Linked DNA regions of Homo sapiens: region 2 is linked to region 1. Evidence: promoter capture Hi-C in 16 types of primary human blood cells and fetal thymus (Javierre and others, 2016). All regions are on one chromosome and are shown on one strand. Each heading gives the region's core, a stretch centred on a gene start or on the middle of the fragment in contact. The rest is flanking DNA. Distances are from core to core; before and after follow the strand shown. Region 1 holds the start of AKAIN1 (A-kinase anchor inhibitor 1). Region 2 overlaps EPB41L3 (erythrocyte membrane protein band 4.1 like 3).

Region 1 (2,874 bases), core at 38-2,537:
TTTCATCTTGCTGCTGCTGGGGTAGGCCCCATATGTTCAAGCCTGTGTTGAGCCAGGTGCTAACAGCAGTACTGATTGTATTATGTTGAGGCTGCCCATATGCCTTCATGCAAACTGTAGTTCAAAAGCTGTAAAACTATTTGCATTTTCAGTCTATCGGATGGCTTTAAAAAAAAAACAGTGCCAATCAGTCTATTTGGATGCTTTATATTTGCCAAAAGACTGTAGAACTTATTGCCATCAACCAATTATCAGGAAATACTTAATTTTCAGAATAGTTACATTTTCCAGGGATAGTTGCAAGTGAAGAAACCCCATAAAACACTGGAGATGACCTTGATTACCTTTGTTCTTGGAAAACCTTATTTAGCTGGAAAAATAGGGGAGAGGCTGGAGGATTCTGGGTGGCTTTAGCTTTGGGTTTGTAACCCACATGGACCTGTTTCAAGCTGGGTGACATCTAGTGTGGGCTGTTCACACTGCACAGACATTATTAGGGAATAGATACCTAAAGTGAGCAATGATTAGGAGGATGAAGTGAGCATAAGGCAGTCCCAGTACCTTTAAGGTAGAACTGGGTGTATGAGCGGGGCATGCAGACAGTTTTCAGCTGGGTGAGGATAGGGGAAGAACTGATGTTTCTTGATTGATCTCAGGGCTGTTCTCACACTTGCAGGGGGCTCTGTTGGCTCTTCCTTGTGAAGGGTGTATGCGTTATCTTTCCTGTGCCCTGGCCGGCCTTGCTTTTTCTAAAGTGATGACCTTGAGGACCTTCAAGCTTAGGAGCTTTCAGAGCCGGATTTGCCACCTGGGAGCGGAACCTGATAGTAGCGCCCTCCTCGAGCGCTCCATAGTCACTGTGTCCTTCCTCTTGCTCTCTTCCTGACGTTAGCAGAGGACTGGGACTCGCGAGAGAGGACTCACGGACCTCCAGGACCTATTAACTTGACAGACCCGCCCCTCTATTCGAGCCAGCCCAACTCGGAGAACTCAGAGTCATCCTCGAGAGTAAAGAAAGCTCTTAGAGTTTTTTTTTTTTGACAAATCTATCTTAAATGTCAGTCCAATATCCACGGCGACGAGCCACAGCAGGTAATTAAAAGCAATTCACTGTCCCCTGCCGGGAAGTTTACCTTTCTCTCTCTTGCTCTTCCGACCTTCGTCGCGTGAAAGCGGTGGAAGTGCTTTGCTCCCTAAGCAGCAGTGTACGTCGCCGAGCTGGCACAGGAATGAGGGATGGACTGAGCGGGGATTCACCCTCCTCCTCCCGCCGCCGCTGTGGCCGCATTGTGGAGGCAGAGCGCGCGGCGGCGGCTGGAGCTGCGGCCCCAGGATCTAGCGGCGGGAGCTGTCCGGGGTGCTGACCGCCCCGCCCGCCGCCCGCCCAGCGCGCCCTCCTGCACCGGACCCCGCCAAGTCCGGCCTTCTTCCCATCCTCCGTCTGCCTGTCTTTCTCTCTTAATCTGGGGGCGTAGCGGCTGGAAGAAATCATGGTGTTCGCTCCAGGTACACCGCACCTTGCTTTTTCACCAAGTGTCTAGGAGGGGAGCAGGGTAGAGGACGGAGAGGAGAGGGAAAAAAGGCCTCTTTACCTTACGGCCCATCTGCGCGTTTCGGAGTTACTGTCTGTGCTCATGGGGCGGAGGAGTGCCTCGGCGCGTCGCCTTCGCCCCTCTCCCCAGTCCCGCCCCATCTGTCCTCTAACAATCTCCAGCCCTTCCTCGCCCTCGTCCCGCTGCTTCTCTTCCCATCTGGCTCCTCCACACCCCTTCCGAGCTCAGGAGCCTTAAGAACTGGGACTTTCGCCAGCAGCACCGGCACCTACACGGGCAAGAGAGTGGAGAGGTGGGGCAAAGAGTAGTGGGCTTCGGGCTACTTGCGTGGGAATCTCCCTCACTGCTACTTCCCCCTCCGCAGAATTGGCAAAGTGACCCGGGTCCTCCTGGCCTCCCGAGGAGAAGGAGGCGAAGTGGGCGAAGCCAAGGGGAGTAGGACGAAGGGCAGAGGAGCGATACTTCTTAAGGAATTAGACCTGAAACTCCGACCGGAGGCTGCAGCACAGAGGCAGCTACTGCGGCGCCGCTGGAGGTTGCCGTGTCTTTTTGGAGCAGGCGGTGAAGGACCTTGGTCCCTTTGCTGCTCTCCGTGGCTACTAGTTGGCGAAGAGTCAGATTTGTCTGCGGTTGACCGGCTTGGCGGCGTGTGCGTGCGTGCGCATTTGAGTCCGCCCCACTGGAGCAAGGGAGGCCAGGCTAATCGAGGAAGCGGGGAAAAGCGTGGTCGTTGTGAACGTCCGACGCTGTCTCTAGGGGTAGATCCAAAGTATTTCTCTCTCACGCATTTTAGGGTCTGATTTCGTTAAAGACTGCTGTGGAAAACAGGGAGTGGGGAAGGCTGGAGGGGCCTAGAACTCTCTAGCTTTGTTCCTGGGGTCTTTAACTTGAAAGATTGGCATGTATTTGCTGTGGTCATGGGCTTCAGATGGCTGGGGAGAAAAGGCGTAATGCATTTTTTTTTAAAGGGAAGAATTGAGTCTTTTCTTCAAAAAATTCAATTAGCAAAACTTGAGAAGAGCAAGTCAGTCCCCTCCCCCTCCCCCTCAGAATGCTAGCTGGGGAGGGAGGGATGAGTTTCTGTAGGCTCTGGCTTTACCACAGGCAGTGGTTCTTAGAGGAACGCCTTAAAGGAATGCCCAGGAGCTCTTCCCATGCCCATCCTAAATAACTCAAGGGAGGAAATTGTTCCATATAGCAAAGGACATTCAATCAACACTGGAGCAAGGAAGTTGGAAAACAGCTCTTTGCTGCATTTATACAGCACTTAACACTTTACAAAGCAGTTTCATGCTGCTATCTCATTTGATCTCCTAATTAC
Region 2 (2,965 bases), core at 275-2,774, 200 kb before region 1:
TTATAATTGGCAGTAAAATTGGGAAATGCAAAGTTGGCCAAGATATTAGAAAATGTGATACATTTATTTCTTATCAGTGCACTTTTCCAGAAGCACCAAAACCATGTTTACCCGGGTCCTAAATGCCAGAACTTTATTCTTTATCCTCTTTTATTGAGATTCCTGAAGTATTTGGGGAGTTAATGTCTCATTATTAGTTTCTTCTTTCTAAGAAGTTATTAAATAGAAAACTTTTTTTTATTGCCTTCAAAATGTTTTGCTTTACTTGGAGCATTTCATATAAAAGTGCTATGAGAGTCCAGGAGACTGACATGTGCATGTTGTATGCCTCATTCCCCAGCTTACTCTCTACATAAACATTTATAGCATACTAACCTGTGCTTATAACCACCAAGAGAGGAAAAGGAAGAAAACAATGTGTTCATGCAAACTATAACAGCCACTCTGCTTACTCCCCTTTGGCACAGTCCTCAACGGTGAAGACGGAAACCATCAGTTTTGGCAGTGTTTCACCGGGAGGAGTAAAGCTAGAAATTTCCACGAAGGAAGTGCCAGTAGTTCACACCGAAACCAAAACCATCACATATGAATCATCACAGGTGAGATATTCTGTGAAGACCAGAGCCCTGGCTGCTTATTTCACCCCTCTATGGCCTAGTGTGTTTACATAGAACTGCACGATATTTAATTCATGAGACTTAGAGGATCCAGCAGCCAGACCATTTCTATTAAAAGTGATGCAATAATGGTCATTTTATTAGTGATCAGGGAGCAGCAGATGACTTAACCAAGTCTTTATGTGTCTTGAAGTGTAGAAAAAGGCTCAGAAACCTGTTTCCCTAGCCACAGAGAAAGAAAAATATTCACTCACCCATCCACCACTCACATTTCTGAAACCTTAGTTTTTTTAATGACAGTTACCTGTGGTTGCACTTAGTACTTATTCTTGGGAGCAGCGCTCAGACTCTGAAGAGCATAATGATTGCATAATAGGAGATAGTGAAATTGTCGTAATGCCTTAAATAACGTAGCCAACTTCTGAAGAGCAGATGTGAGCACCTGGATGAGGGGTCTATGCCTCTGCTGCTTTAGGTCGATCCAGGCACAGATCTGGAGCCAGGCGTGCTGATGAGTGCACAGACGATCACATCTGAAACCACCAGTACCACCACCACTACGCACATCACCAAAGTAAGTGGAGTGAGAACCGAGAAGAGGATTCCTTGAGAGCGAGCTGGAGGAAGGTGCTTGTTCAGAACTCCTCACAGGTTGGGCTGCACAAGCACAAGGTGGCTTGAAGCTCAGGACGCCGGGATAGCTGCAAGGGGAGCTTTTACAGCCCCTAGATTTACGATGCACTTGTCCTCACGTGCGAGTTCCCCTTTAGGAATATACATTCTGATATCCTAAGCTTAATGCTTACTCCAGTGCTTGGCATGTGGTAGTGTTCCAGAAACATGGGCCATCCAGACCCAAGGGCCTCCATTCCGTCCTCACCTCTGGAATTAAAAATGTGAAATAAGTGCCATAGAACTCTAATTTCAATTCTCGAAGAGTGAATGATGTCAGCATCTTCGGCCATTTCCCCCTACTGAACCATGATGGTTTCTCCCAGTGAGTAAATTCATAAAGCTTCTCTACGTGTCTTGCAGACTGTGAAAGGGGGCATTTCAGAGACAAGAATTGAGAAGCGAATAGTCATCACGGGGGATGCAGACATTGACCATGACCAGGTAGTGTGTGTGAGACGGTAAATACCCTGGCAGAGAAACAAAGAAAAACCTGTTGGTCCTACAGTTTCAATGCTATTCCTCTAGTCCAGCATGTATTCCGAAGAAAATTCCGAATTAACTTTCCAATATATGATTTATGATTCCTTTTGTAATCATTGTACCTCATTTGTAAATTGTGGATATAGATCTAGCTCATAAGTCTCCACCTCACCACTGATCATGCATGTTCCACCTCCTTTTTGTTTCTGCCCTTCTGTGATTTCCCGGGGATAGGCGCTGGCTCAGGCAATTAAAGAGGCCAAAGAGCAGCACCCTGACATGTCAGTGACCAAAGTAGTGGTCCATAAAGAGACAGAGATCACACCAGAAGATGGAGAGGATTGACCAGAGGTAAGAGGTGATGCCGATTCTCTAGGCTTGCCTAGGCTGGCATGAGGCATGGGGCACTTCCCTCTCATCCTTCACCTGATCCCTCCTTTCCTCTGTTCTCTCACTGGCATTTGTTGGGCTGGTTACCAAGAGGATGGAGAATTGGTTTATGGGTTTGTCTCACATTTGGAGCTTCCATTCTTGTGGAGTTTTTGCATGCACTGCCAGTTAGAGGATAAAGGAAGAGCAGAGTCTATGCTTCTATGCTTGTGTGGTCTTCCTGGTGTTCCCTTTTATTCCATGGCCTGCACTCTTTGATTATCCAAATTTGTAATGGCAAATTTGATTTTACTTGCCATGTGGCCTAATTGGAACAAAGGCAGTTTTGCTCTGAGAGGCTCAATTTGTGTGTTCCAAATACTAGGGAAATAATATATACCCCTTTCTCCTTCTGATGGCAACATTATCCCGTCGTAAGCTTTCTCTTCAACTGTGTTTGATTGTAACCTGTTTATGCTTTTGTCTTTAGTTTTGTTTTTTTAATTTGAAAGCTGAGCACTCACTTTCTTTTTGGATGTCTTATATTTCCTGTATTCTTTGGGATGATTTTTCTCCCTAGCGTAGCACTGTCTCAGAAGGAGGCAAAAAAAATGCAGTCTTGTGGTCCTGTAGAAAGCACATACCTTTCCAGTGACTGTTTGGCCAGCATCATGAGCAGACTATATCATCTATGTGAGCACAGACTTGTCATGCATAGTCACCTGCCATGCAAGATCTCATGGGGCCATGAGCGTTTCTGAGAGGGCTTTGAATGCTGAATGCAGCAGTCGAGCGACTTGCACAACTTGGTGATGTGATAAAAT

What was found. The method cuts DNA at HindIII sites, captures the fragments that hold promoters and counts their contacts. A CHiCAGO score of 5 or more calls a contact.
Region 2: a contact is called between a fragment that was not itself captured here and the fragment with the promoter of AKAIN1 in region 1, in 1 of 17 cell types (total CD8 T cells). The highest score is 5.3, in total CD8 T cells.

Annotation. Positions count from the first base shown.
Region 1 is chr18:5,195,670-5,198,543 of GRCh38, reverse strand. It overlaps AKAIN1 (A-kinase anchor inhibitor 1), which reads left to right and starts at 1,287. Exons shown (of 2, transcript NM_001145194.2): 1 at 1,287-1,506. The coding sequence starts at 1,491. The HindIII fragment of the contact is 4,568 bases long and covers 781-2,874 here.
Region 2 is chr18:5,393,835-5,396,799 of GRCh38, reverse strand. It overlaps EPB41L3 (erythrocyte membrane protein band 4.1 like 3), which reads left to right. Exons shown (of 23, transcript NM_012307.5): 19 at 468-599; 20 at 1,093-1,191; 21 at 1,653-1,733; 22 at 2,007-2,123. The coding sequence ends at 2,117. Among named protein-coding and RNA genes, the nearest start is that of ZBTB14, 100 kb to the right of the region's middle. RefSeq lists an enhancer at 168-1,367. The HindIII fragment of the contact is 221 bases long and covers 1,414-1,634 here.